Linked DNA regions of Homo sapiens: region 2 is linked to region 1. The links are contacts of gene promoters, found by promoter capture Hi-C in blood cells and fetal thymus (Javierre and others, 2016). All regions are on one chromosome and are shown on one strand. The core of a region is centred on a gene start or on the middle of the fragment in contact, and the rest is flanking DNA. Distances in the headings are between cores, read along the strand shown.

Evidence for each region. Contacts are between HindIII fragments. The CHiCAGO score rates a contact against its expected background, and 5 or more counts as called.
Region 2: a fragment that was not itself captured here is called in contact with the fragment with the promoter of CLIC6 in region 1 in 1 of 17 cell types (naive B cells); the score reaches 7.0 in naive B cells.

What each region holds. Positions count from the first base shown.
Region 1 is chr21:34,666,678-34,671,861 of GRCh38, forward strand. It overlaps CLIC6 (chloride intracellular channel 6), which reads left to right and starts at 2,317. Exons shown (of 6, transcript NM_053277.3): 1 at 2,317-4,085. The coding sequence starts at 2,712. RefSeq lists silencers at 2,610-3,049, 3,950-4,029. The HindIII fragment of the contact is 3,378 bases long and covers 1,148-4,525 here.
Region 2 is chr21:35,861,803-35,866,986 of GRCh38, forward strand. No RefSeq gene overlaps it. Among named protein-coding and RNA genes, the nearest start is that of LINC01436, 140 kb to the right of the region's middle. The HindIII fragment of the contact is 1,149 bases long and covers 1,376-2,524 here.

The DNA of each region.
Region 1 (5,184 bases), core at 1,067-3,566:
TAAAAGAATAAATCCAAACCCTATAAGATCAAATAGCCTTGTGTGATCCACAGGATCAGTTTCCAGGACAGAATAGACTTTATTAGCATTGTTTTTCTGCAAGGACATTATTCAGGCCAGTTCTCAGCCACTCAGCCAACAGCTTTGTTTCCGACTGTGCCAAGTCTGCAAACAGTAGCTGATCATCTTTAGCTCAATTCAAAAGGAGGTTTTTCTAGATATTCCAACCACACCCCCCCCCAATAGCCAGCACATTTCTATCAAGTTTGATTGAGTTAGAGTTTATGAAATATTTCCTGAATGACTGAATACACACGTGCCTTCAAATACATATGCACCAACCTGAACTAGTTTTGGAAAATACTTTCCTCAGTTAGTTTTATACTTTGGGGGGTAAGCTAATGTCACAAGACACTCTATTGACAGAAATTCTTATCTACTGACTTTGCTAAAAGAATTTGCTAAATATTATTACTCGCATGAGTGTCTTTAATTTGGTTCTTTGTAAACATTGAGCATTGAAGACGGTTTGTTATTAAGGACAAAGTTATGTATCTAACTAATCTCACATTTTTCTAAGCAGCGCAAATAAACCCAGAGCCCTTCAATGGTTCACAGGTCCACAATCCTTTTATACACATTCTGAAATCCTAAAAGGCTCTGAATACTGAAAGCTGTTTTGGGAACTCATCTAGAATCAGAACCAGAAAGGCTTGAACTCAGCTGGAGGTGAACCTAAACTGGGGGTGGGGGGCCTGAAGCTTGTATGATTTTACCATATCTCACCAAATGTGATGCCTGTCTTACTGCAGAAATATTAATGTGTTTGATCACAAAGTGATGTTCTGTGTTATGTAATATACAGTAAAATCACTCAATCATCTTTCTAACAATTCTGTTTTCTGAAACACATCCGGGCTCATGGGATTTGCATAAAGCACTGTAAACCTGTACTGTGTTTGCTGTTCCGGGCTGAACGTGCTGGCTTCATCTTTCTTTACAAGATAAGGGTGATGGCTGCTACCTTGCCCCGGTGAATGCAGCAGGATTCCTTTTCTAGGTGCCTAGAGCTTTTACGGCTCACGTGCATCTCTGGCTCACCTGTGTGAGTGTCATGCTTTGACTAGATGCCACTTTGTGGTGATGAAGCTTCTGGCCTGTACCTACCCAGACAGAGCACAGCCTTGGAGAAAGGTAGCATGAAGCTGAGTGTCTCTGGGCTCCTGTCCTGTCATCCATCAGTGATGAGCAATGGGAAGTAGAAGGAGACACATTATGTTCATGGCCAAAGGTGTGACCCCAAGCCACATCAAAGGCACACCCAGCTCTTTCAACGAAAACAACCTTCTGTGGGCATGAGGGGCTCATGTATCTTAGGCCAATATCAAAGCCATATAAAGCCTGATGAATCAAGTCAGTCTTGAGCTGGGATCCCCGTTCCACCACATTTACATAGTGCCACCTTGGGTAACCCAGTTTCTTGGTAACCCACTAGAAGTAGCCTGGCTTATAATAAACTTACGACATACTTTTCACCATAATAACTTCCTTTTTAAAGTAGGTATTGGGTCTGTGATCCTGGGAGAACCCTAACCCAGGGAATTCCATAGCTCCCCTCTTTCACATCTTGGATTTTCTTTTCTCCACCTCCAGATTCCCAAGCTCTTAACTTGGAGGCAGAAGCACTGGTGGTGAGTTTAGAAATCTAGGAGAATCAGCAAGATACACAGACTCTTACAGTCTTAAGAGACCCGGGAGATGAAGGTGTAACCTTTTTCCAGCGCAGGGCTCCCACGATCCTCCAGACAGGCCCGGAGAAGCGGACCCTCATGGACAACAGCGCCCATCTCTGGTCAGAGAAACTCGACTGGCTCCTTGTGCGTCTATATGAGGGGCCTCTGGAACCTCTCCGGGGGCCCTGCAGACATGGGAAGGCGGCCAGCGTAGCCTCCCCAGCTTCTTCTCTCAGGGATTTACACCCTTGCTCTTGGACATCAGGCACAATGTGGACATCTTCAGTTGGGTACCGGGGGAGCTTGATGCTTCACTCCTGGGGTAAGGTGGGGATTAGGTGTTTGGGTGTCGGGGTGTGTGTTTGGAGGGGGTGATTTAAGTGACTCTGGAACTTGAAGCCATTCTAGAGAACAACACCCAAGCGGCCAGGAGAACCAGAATCTTTTCATCAACATCCACAAGGGTCACGAGAAAGGCTGTCATTGGCCAAGCTCCTAGGCTACCCAAACAAAGGAGGGAGGAGGGGAAGACAAACCCCGCCCAAGCCCCAGGGGATGGAGTTGGCACCAAGGACTTCTGGTCAACCCCAGGACAGCGGACAGCGGGCCGGGCACTTCCAAAGGCGCAGGAGCGAAGCAGCCCTCTCCAGCCGTGCACTGCACCTCCGCGGCCCGCGGGCGAGATTGGGGTCCCGGTGGGAAGCAGACGCGCAATCGGGGAGAAGCTCCAGCAGTGGAGGAAGAGTCCAGGGAGTTTCAGCTGGGCAGAAGGGGCGCAGAGGCTTGGGGCCAAGCGGAGTTTGCCCTGCGGGTCCTGCGCAAGGCCCCAGTGCCCCGGCTAAACCTTTGCCGCAGGATCCCGGAGCCGGCGTCCTTCAAGGAGCACAGAGGGCCCCGTAGCACGCCCCTTGCCCAGCGCCACCGACCCTTAAGCAGCGTCAAGGAAGGAGTCCCGATCAAGGACAGGGATCTGCGGCCATGGCCGAGGCCGCGGAGCCGGAGGGGGTTGCCCCGGGTCCCCAGGGGCCGCCGGAGGTCCCCGCGCCTCTGGCTGAGAGACCCGGAGAGCCAGGAGCCGCGGGCGGGGAGGCAGAAGGGCCGGAGGGGAGCGAGGGCGCAGAGGAGGCGCCGAGGGGCGCCGCCGCTGTGAAGGAGGCAGGAGGCGGCGGGCCAGACAGGGGCCCGGAGGCCGAGGCGCGGGGCACGAGGGGGGCGCACGGCGAGACTGAGGCCGAGGAGGGAGCCCCGGAGGGTGCCGAGGTGCCCCAAGGAGGGGAGGAGACAAGCGGCGCGCAGCAGGTGGAGGGGGCGAGCCCGGGACGCGGCGCGCAGGGCGAGCCCCGCGGGGAGGCTCAGAGGGAGCCCGAGGACTCTGCGGCCCCCGAGAGGCAGGAGGAGGCGGAGCAGAGGCCTGAGGTCCCGGAAGGTAGCGCGTCCGGGGAGGCGGGGGACAGCGTAGACGCGGAGGGCCCGCTGGGGGACAACATAGAAGCGGAGGGCCCGGCGGGCGACAGCGTAGAGGCGGAGGGCCGGGTGGGGGACAGCGTAGACGCGGAAGGTCCGGCGGGGGACAGCGTAGACGCGGAGGGCCCGCTGGGGGACAACATACAAGCCGAGGGCCCGGCGGGGGACAGCGTAGACGCGGAGGGCCGGGTGGGGGACAGCGTAGACGCGGAAGGTCCGGCGGGGGACAGCGTAGACGCGGAGGGCCGGGTGGGGGACAGCGTAGAGGCGGGGGACCCGGCGGGGGACGGCGTAGAAGCGGGGGTCCCGGCGGGGGACAGCGTAGAAGCCGAAGGCCCGGCGGGGGACAGCATGGACGCCGAGGGTCCGGCAGGAAGGGCGCGCCGGGTCTCGGGTGAGCCGCAGCAATCGGGGGACGGCAGCCTCTCGCCCCAGGCCGAGGCAATTGAGGTCGCAGCCGGGGAGAGTGCGGGGCGCAGCCCCGGTGAGCTCGCCTGGGACGCAGCGGAGGAGGCGGAGGTCCCGGGGGTAAAGGGGTCCGAAGAAGCGGCCCCCGGGGACGCAAGGGCAGACGCTGGCGAGGACAGGGTAGGGGATGGGCCACAGCAGGAGCCGGGGGAGGACGAAGAGAGACGAGAGCGGAGCCCGGAGGGGCCAAGGGAGGAGGAAGCAGCGGGGGGCGAAGAGGAATCCCCCGACAGCAGCCCACATGGGGAGGCCTCCAGGGGCGCCGCGGAGCCTGAGGCCCAGCTCAGCAACCACCTGGCCGAGGAGGGCCCCGCCGAGGGTAGCGGCGAGGCCGCGCGCGTGAACGGCCGCCGGGAGGACGGAGAGGCGTCCGAGCCCCGGGCCCTGGGGCAGGAGCACGACATCACCCTCTTCGTCAAGGTAAAGCTCGCTTCCCTCAATTCTTAGGACGACCCCCTTCCATTCGAGGTCTTGGTCATCTCAGATCCCAGAGGGACGCGCAGGGAGGAACCCTTGGTGGTATCCTGATTGTCATCAGGCGCTTCCATGCGCGGGCGGTAGGCGGGACAGCCGGGATTTCCCGGAGAAGAGTTTCCAGGGCATTTGCGGGAGGACTCAATGGTTTGGAAGCAAAGACTTTGGGGGTGGGGGCGACGGGGAGTGCGATGGGGGCCAATGAGGATGTGGGGTTGTGGGTTCAGCATCCCACTGTCCTTTGACCTGAACATCCTAACCAGCCCTCCTAGTCAGGAGGTTATTAACGAATTAACTAAAAAGTTAAAAAAAAAAAAAAAAAAAAAGAAGAAGAAGAAGAAAAGCAACGCACCCTATTGGTGTTCAAAGGGATTTCTGCCAAAGGAAGCTTTAATACTTGAAGCCAAAAAACGCAGACAGGTAGGTTCAATGTGGGAGGTGCCTTCCAGACTCAATCTCGGAGACCCAGAGCTGGTCAATGTTTTCAACTCCAAAAAGGTATTCCATTTTGGTAGAATCAACAATGTACGTTTAGGGGGGAATGGAGCCTTATTGACATAATGTTTTTTGAACGTTTTAACATTGAATTTGGAAGAATACAAGATGCCGGTGACTTGAACATCATCTGCTTGTATGTCATGTTTTTAACCTCAGTTCACATGGGAAGAGAGCAAGGATTCTGTGAAGGAATCTGTAGAGACACAACTGAGGAAGTTTTGAATTTAAACAGGAATTATTTACAAGGCATGAAAAATGAAAGAACAAAGCTCAGCAGCAGTTCACACCAGGATCTTTGTTTAAAAAGCCTTTTCTGAGGACCTTTGGCCAGACCCAGGAAAGTTGGAGATAATAAGGTCAAGAATGTGCATTTCATGTTGAATCATAATCCTTCAGAAATACTTCCAGGCTTATAGAAACCAGTTACCATCTAAATCTCTCTGGCTGAAATGCAAGCACATTTTAATAAGTAAAAGGAAATGCTCCCAATGTGATTAACATCAGAATTTTAAGAATTGTTTGGGTGGCGAGGGGCTTGGGAAAGAAG
Region 2 (5,184 bases), core at 700-3,199, 1.2 Mb after region 1:
CATTACTCATAATGGCTGATTTTGTTTTATTACATCTGACTCAAAGCCAAAGGTAGACAGCACTTAGAGCTCTCTGTGGACATTAATGTTTGAATGCAATACAGATAGCTTCCCTCTCTGGCTTCCCACCAGCACCCACACATGCTGCCCTCCTGCTCTCAGTATGTATGCAAGTGGTTGTGGAATAGAGAGGCAGTGAAATAGCTCCAGAATTTGTCATGCAGCCACCATATCCCAAGCACATTGCTAGGCACTGATCCTCATAGGTCGATAAAACAAGAGACCCTGCCCTCTAGGGATGCACTGGGCTGGACAACAGCCCACCAACATTACCCTGTAAGGGCAGTATTATGTGCCATAACACAGATAACGTAAGAGTGGGATGCGAAAATATCAAGAAGGAAAGAGTGAGCTCTAGTTGGGAAAAATCAGAAAAGGGGGTGGCATATGAAATAAGCCAGCAAAGAAGAGGTTATGTATTAGGCAGCCACAAATGGGAACTAAATTCTTGGTGCCAAGGACAGCAAGCAAGGTGAGAAACCGAGGAGGGTAGGGCATGTTCAACTAAAGCTTAACATGGCATGTGTTCATATGGGGAAATAGCACATGGTGGCACAGGAACGACGAAGCATGTGGCTGATGGCCTTGAACACTACCTGAAGAGTGGGCCTCTGTTTGAGAGTAAGGAGCATTCATGACCTTGAGCACAGGAGTAAGCTGCAAAGAGCCACACTCTAAGTAGGTTAGTGCAGGAGTGGTGTGAGGTACCCAGGCCGGCAGGGCTTTTAAGAAATTGCCTTCAATGGCCTGGTTGAGAACCACTGCTCCAGAACACAGTCACGCCTGGTGCTAGGGTCTATAGTATTGCTTCAGTGCTACCAAAATGAATATGGTGGGCTTGGTAAGTGTTAATCTGCTGCCTTAAGAACCTATCATAGGTCCATAGATAAATGCAGTTTCAAGCCAGTGCCTTATAAACAACCTTTGAAGACAACCCATTTGTGAGTTATATACTGCCTTCCAAATGATGAAGATTTGCTTCATATCTTTAAGGGGTGTTTCCACTTTTAAAGAGAACTTGCAATCTATTAGAAAAGATGGCAGAATTTTAGACAAAGGATCCAGAAGCTCCATGCATGAAAGTATTTATGTCTACCTGCTCCCATGACATAAGGACAAGAACATAACTCACCATGGAGGTCCCCACTGCTACACAGCAGCCTGTCTATAAGAGCCTTGCACACACACACACAAAGTGGTATGTCTTTAAAATCCATAAAATCTTCACAGAGTTAATTTTACTGGAAAATTGTTCTCTCTTTTTAGAACATTAGTCCCTAAGGACAGACTACAGGGAGAAAACACTGTTTTTATAAGCTTGCCTAAGAAAATTATTACACCCCAAAGTCCATCATGGTTATGAAATTCCATTGCATCCGTCTCTTGTTTATTTACTTTGAAACCAACATTCTAAATCTACTTGGGATACTCAATGCAAAATAATACTAGTTCTGTTTATTTTTATTTGGCTTTAAAGGAAAAAAGTAGGGGAAGAAGAGGGATGAGGTCTCAGTTAATGATCAAGAAAATATGGCAGAAGTTGACATCTACCTGAGATAAATCAAGATCAAATCTTTGTATCTCTTCTTTGTCAATGGATCCTTTCTTCTTTCCAAGCAATACATTTATGTCTTTCTAGATTGATAATTAATATCCCATATTAATTAGGCTCATGCCTATAATCCCAGCATTTTGGGAGGCTGAGGCAGGAAGATCACTTGAGCCCAGAAGTTGGGGATGAGCCTAAGCAACAAGGGAAAACCCTGGATCTACAAAAAATAAAAAATTAACCAGGCATGGTGGCGCACAACTGTAGTCCCACCTACTCAGGAGGCTGAGGCAGGAGGATTGCTTGAGCCCAGGAGGTCAAGGCTACAGTGAGCCAAAATCACGTCACTGCACTCCAGCCAGGGTGAGAGAACAAGACCCCCTGTCTCAAACAAACAAAAAAAAAAAAAAAAAAAAAAAAGACTCAACAGCCACTGGTCAAAGTAGCTCAACCTGAAGATCTCCCTCTGGTCAAGGATGGGGCAATTTGAACTCTCATAAAGATGAGAATTGCAATGGATTAAAACTGATCAAATAAGTTTAAACCCATGAGTTCATAAAGGTATTTTTTCAAACCTACTTGATAAACTTTTGAAAGTCAACAGCATTATCTTGAAAACTTAGTAAATACAAGGAAAACGTAAAACATTTATTTTAGATTCCTTATGAACTAAGCCAGTAAATAACCAACTAGTAGATGAAAGAAAGAATTTTCTAATAAAATCATTACAGCTAATAAATCAAAGCAGAGTGACAGAATCAGAAATCAACAGTCTGCACCCTGCAGTGAAAGAATGGATCTAGGCAATGTGCATCACATCTGCCAACATCAAAAACAAGGAGCCAACAGGCATGTGAAAGAACACAGACTCACCTACAATCCGCCAGCCCAGGAGGCTGAACCTGAGGCTGTTGAAGCTTCTGGATCCAGCTGCCAACTTCTAGGAGGTCAGAAAACCGAGGAGCATGTTAACCTGCAACATGAGTGCCCAATCAGCCAAATCCAGATTGAGAACCACTCCGTGGGTCAAACGGCCCAGGTTCTTCAATACATAAACTGTAAGAAAAATAGATGGAGGAAAACCTGTAAGCTAAGAGACAGCAGACAGACAGAAAGACATATATAAAATTATGTATTAAAATTTTACACACACACATATAGGCTTTTTTAATGGGAAAAACTACAGCATTTAGAGCTACGTGTTTTTAATTAATACAAAAAGATGCAAAGGATTTATCAATATAATAGCCAGGATAGTGATTACTTTGGGCAAAAGCAAGGAAATTTCTAGAGTAACTGACAAAATTCTAGTAAAATAAAATGGTCTAAAAATGAATTTAAAAGTAAAACAATTGTTATTTTATTATCATTATACTTTAAGTTCTAGGGTACATGTGCAGAACGTGCAGGTTTGTTACGTAGGTATACATGTGCCATGGTGGTTTGCTGCACCCATCAACCTGTCATTTACATTAGGTATTTCTCCTAATGCTATCCCTCCCCCAGCCCCCTACCCCCCGACAGGCCCTGGTGTGTGATGTTCCCTACCCTGTGTCCATGTGTTCTCGTTGTTCAACTCCCACCTATGATGAGAACATGTGGTGTTTGGTTTTCTGTACTTGTGATAGTTGGCTTAGAATTATGGTTTCCAGCTTCATTCACATCCCTGCAAAGGACATGAACTTATCCTTTTTTATGGTTGCATGGTATTCCATGGTGTATATGTGCCACATTTTCTTAATCCAGTCTATCATAGATGGACATTTAGGTTGGTTCCAAGTCTTTGTTATTGTGAATAGTGCCGCAATAAACATACGTGTGCATGTGTCTTTATAGTAGCATGATTTATAATCCTTTGGGTATATACCCACTAATGGGATCGCTGGGTCATGTAGTATTTCTAGTTCTAGATCCCTGAGGAATCACTGCACTGTCTTCCACAATGGTTGAACTAATTTACACTCCCACCAACAGTGTAAAAGCATTCCTATTTTTCCACATCCTCTCCAGCATGTTGTTTCCTGACTTTTAATGATTGCCATTCTAACTGGCGTGAGATGGTATCTCATTGTGGTTTTGATTTGCATTTCTCTGATGGCCAGTGATGATGAACATTTTTTCATGTCTGTTGGCTGCATAAATGTCTTCTTTTGAGAAGTGTCTGTTCATATCCTTTGCCCACTTTTTGATGGGGTTTTTTTCAAAAATGATAAAAATGAAAAAAATGTTATTTTTAAAAGATTTTCAAAAAAAGTGAATCCATTACGATTAGGGATACCACATGGTGAAACCCTTATGATAGACATCTACAAAAAGAAATGTCTAGAAGTCTTGAAACTTTCATACCAAACCACCAACTCTGAATGGTGGGTGGCACTGAGGGGCCAGGAGTAAGAGGGGGAGGGAACCAGGAGACTCAGTACAGGAGCAGGTTTATGTTTTGCTCAATATATTTTTGTTCTGTTTGCATTTATACTAGCAACTTTTCATGTATTATTCATATAGATTAAATGACTCAATCAATCTAGGAGTGAGTGAGCTATCAATTGCCCAAGCAAGTGAGTGAGTGGGCAAATGAATGGAGAAAGAAAAAAGTATCCCAGTATCATAGGCAGGTCCTAATAGTAAAGTCTTCATAAAATCATGTACAGTAAACTACAAAGCAAAAAAACAGATCATGCAAAATCTGATCAACCCAGACATTTTAGAGCCTGTGTATGTGAAGACACTTAAGTCCCTAGTCACAGATACAATGAGCTTATATGCTAAAATTTTATAAATGAAAATTTTACAAGGTAACTTGTTGATCGACCAGTCAAATATGAGTTCAGAACCAGATACCATCTTAAATGATCCCTGTGCCCACCCTAATACCATCCTGCCTGCCCTCCAGGGACCCTCCAATCATGAGACCCTAACTAAGAAGTCTTGCTGCCCAAGCTGGGCACGGGGACTCCCGCCTGTAATCTCAGTACTTTGGGAGGCCTTCAAGGGAGGATTCCTTGAAGCCAAAAGTTAACACCAGCCCTGGCAACACTGGGAGACCCTGTTTCTGTAAAAAAATTTAAAAATTAGCCAGGTGTGGTGGTACACACCTGTGGTGCCAGCTACTCAGGAGGCTGAGGTGGGAGGATCGACTGAGCCCAGGAGATTGAACCTGCAGTAAGCCATGATCACACCACTGCACTCTAGCCTGAGTGACAGAGCAAGACCCTGTCTAAAAAAAGAAAAAAGAAAAAAAGAAAAAAGAAGTCTTACTGCCCCTTTAAATTTCATGACCCCCAGAGTATTTGAAAGCACATTTCTGAATCCACCCAGAATTACTTCTTTACAAACATTCCAAAAAAAAAAAGGCGGGTCGTGGTAGCTCATGCCTATAATACCAGCACTTTGGGAGGCCGAGGCGGGCAGATCACCTGAGGTCAGGGTCAGGAGTTCGAGACTAGCCTGGCCAACATGATGAAACCCTGTCTATACTAAAAATACAAAAATTAGCTGGGCATGGTGGCAGTCGCCTGTAATCCCAGCTACTCGGGAGGCTGAGGCAGGAGAATCGCTTGAACCCGGGAGGCGGA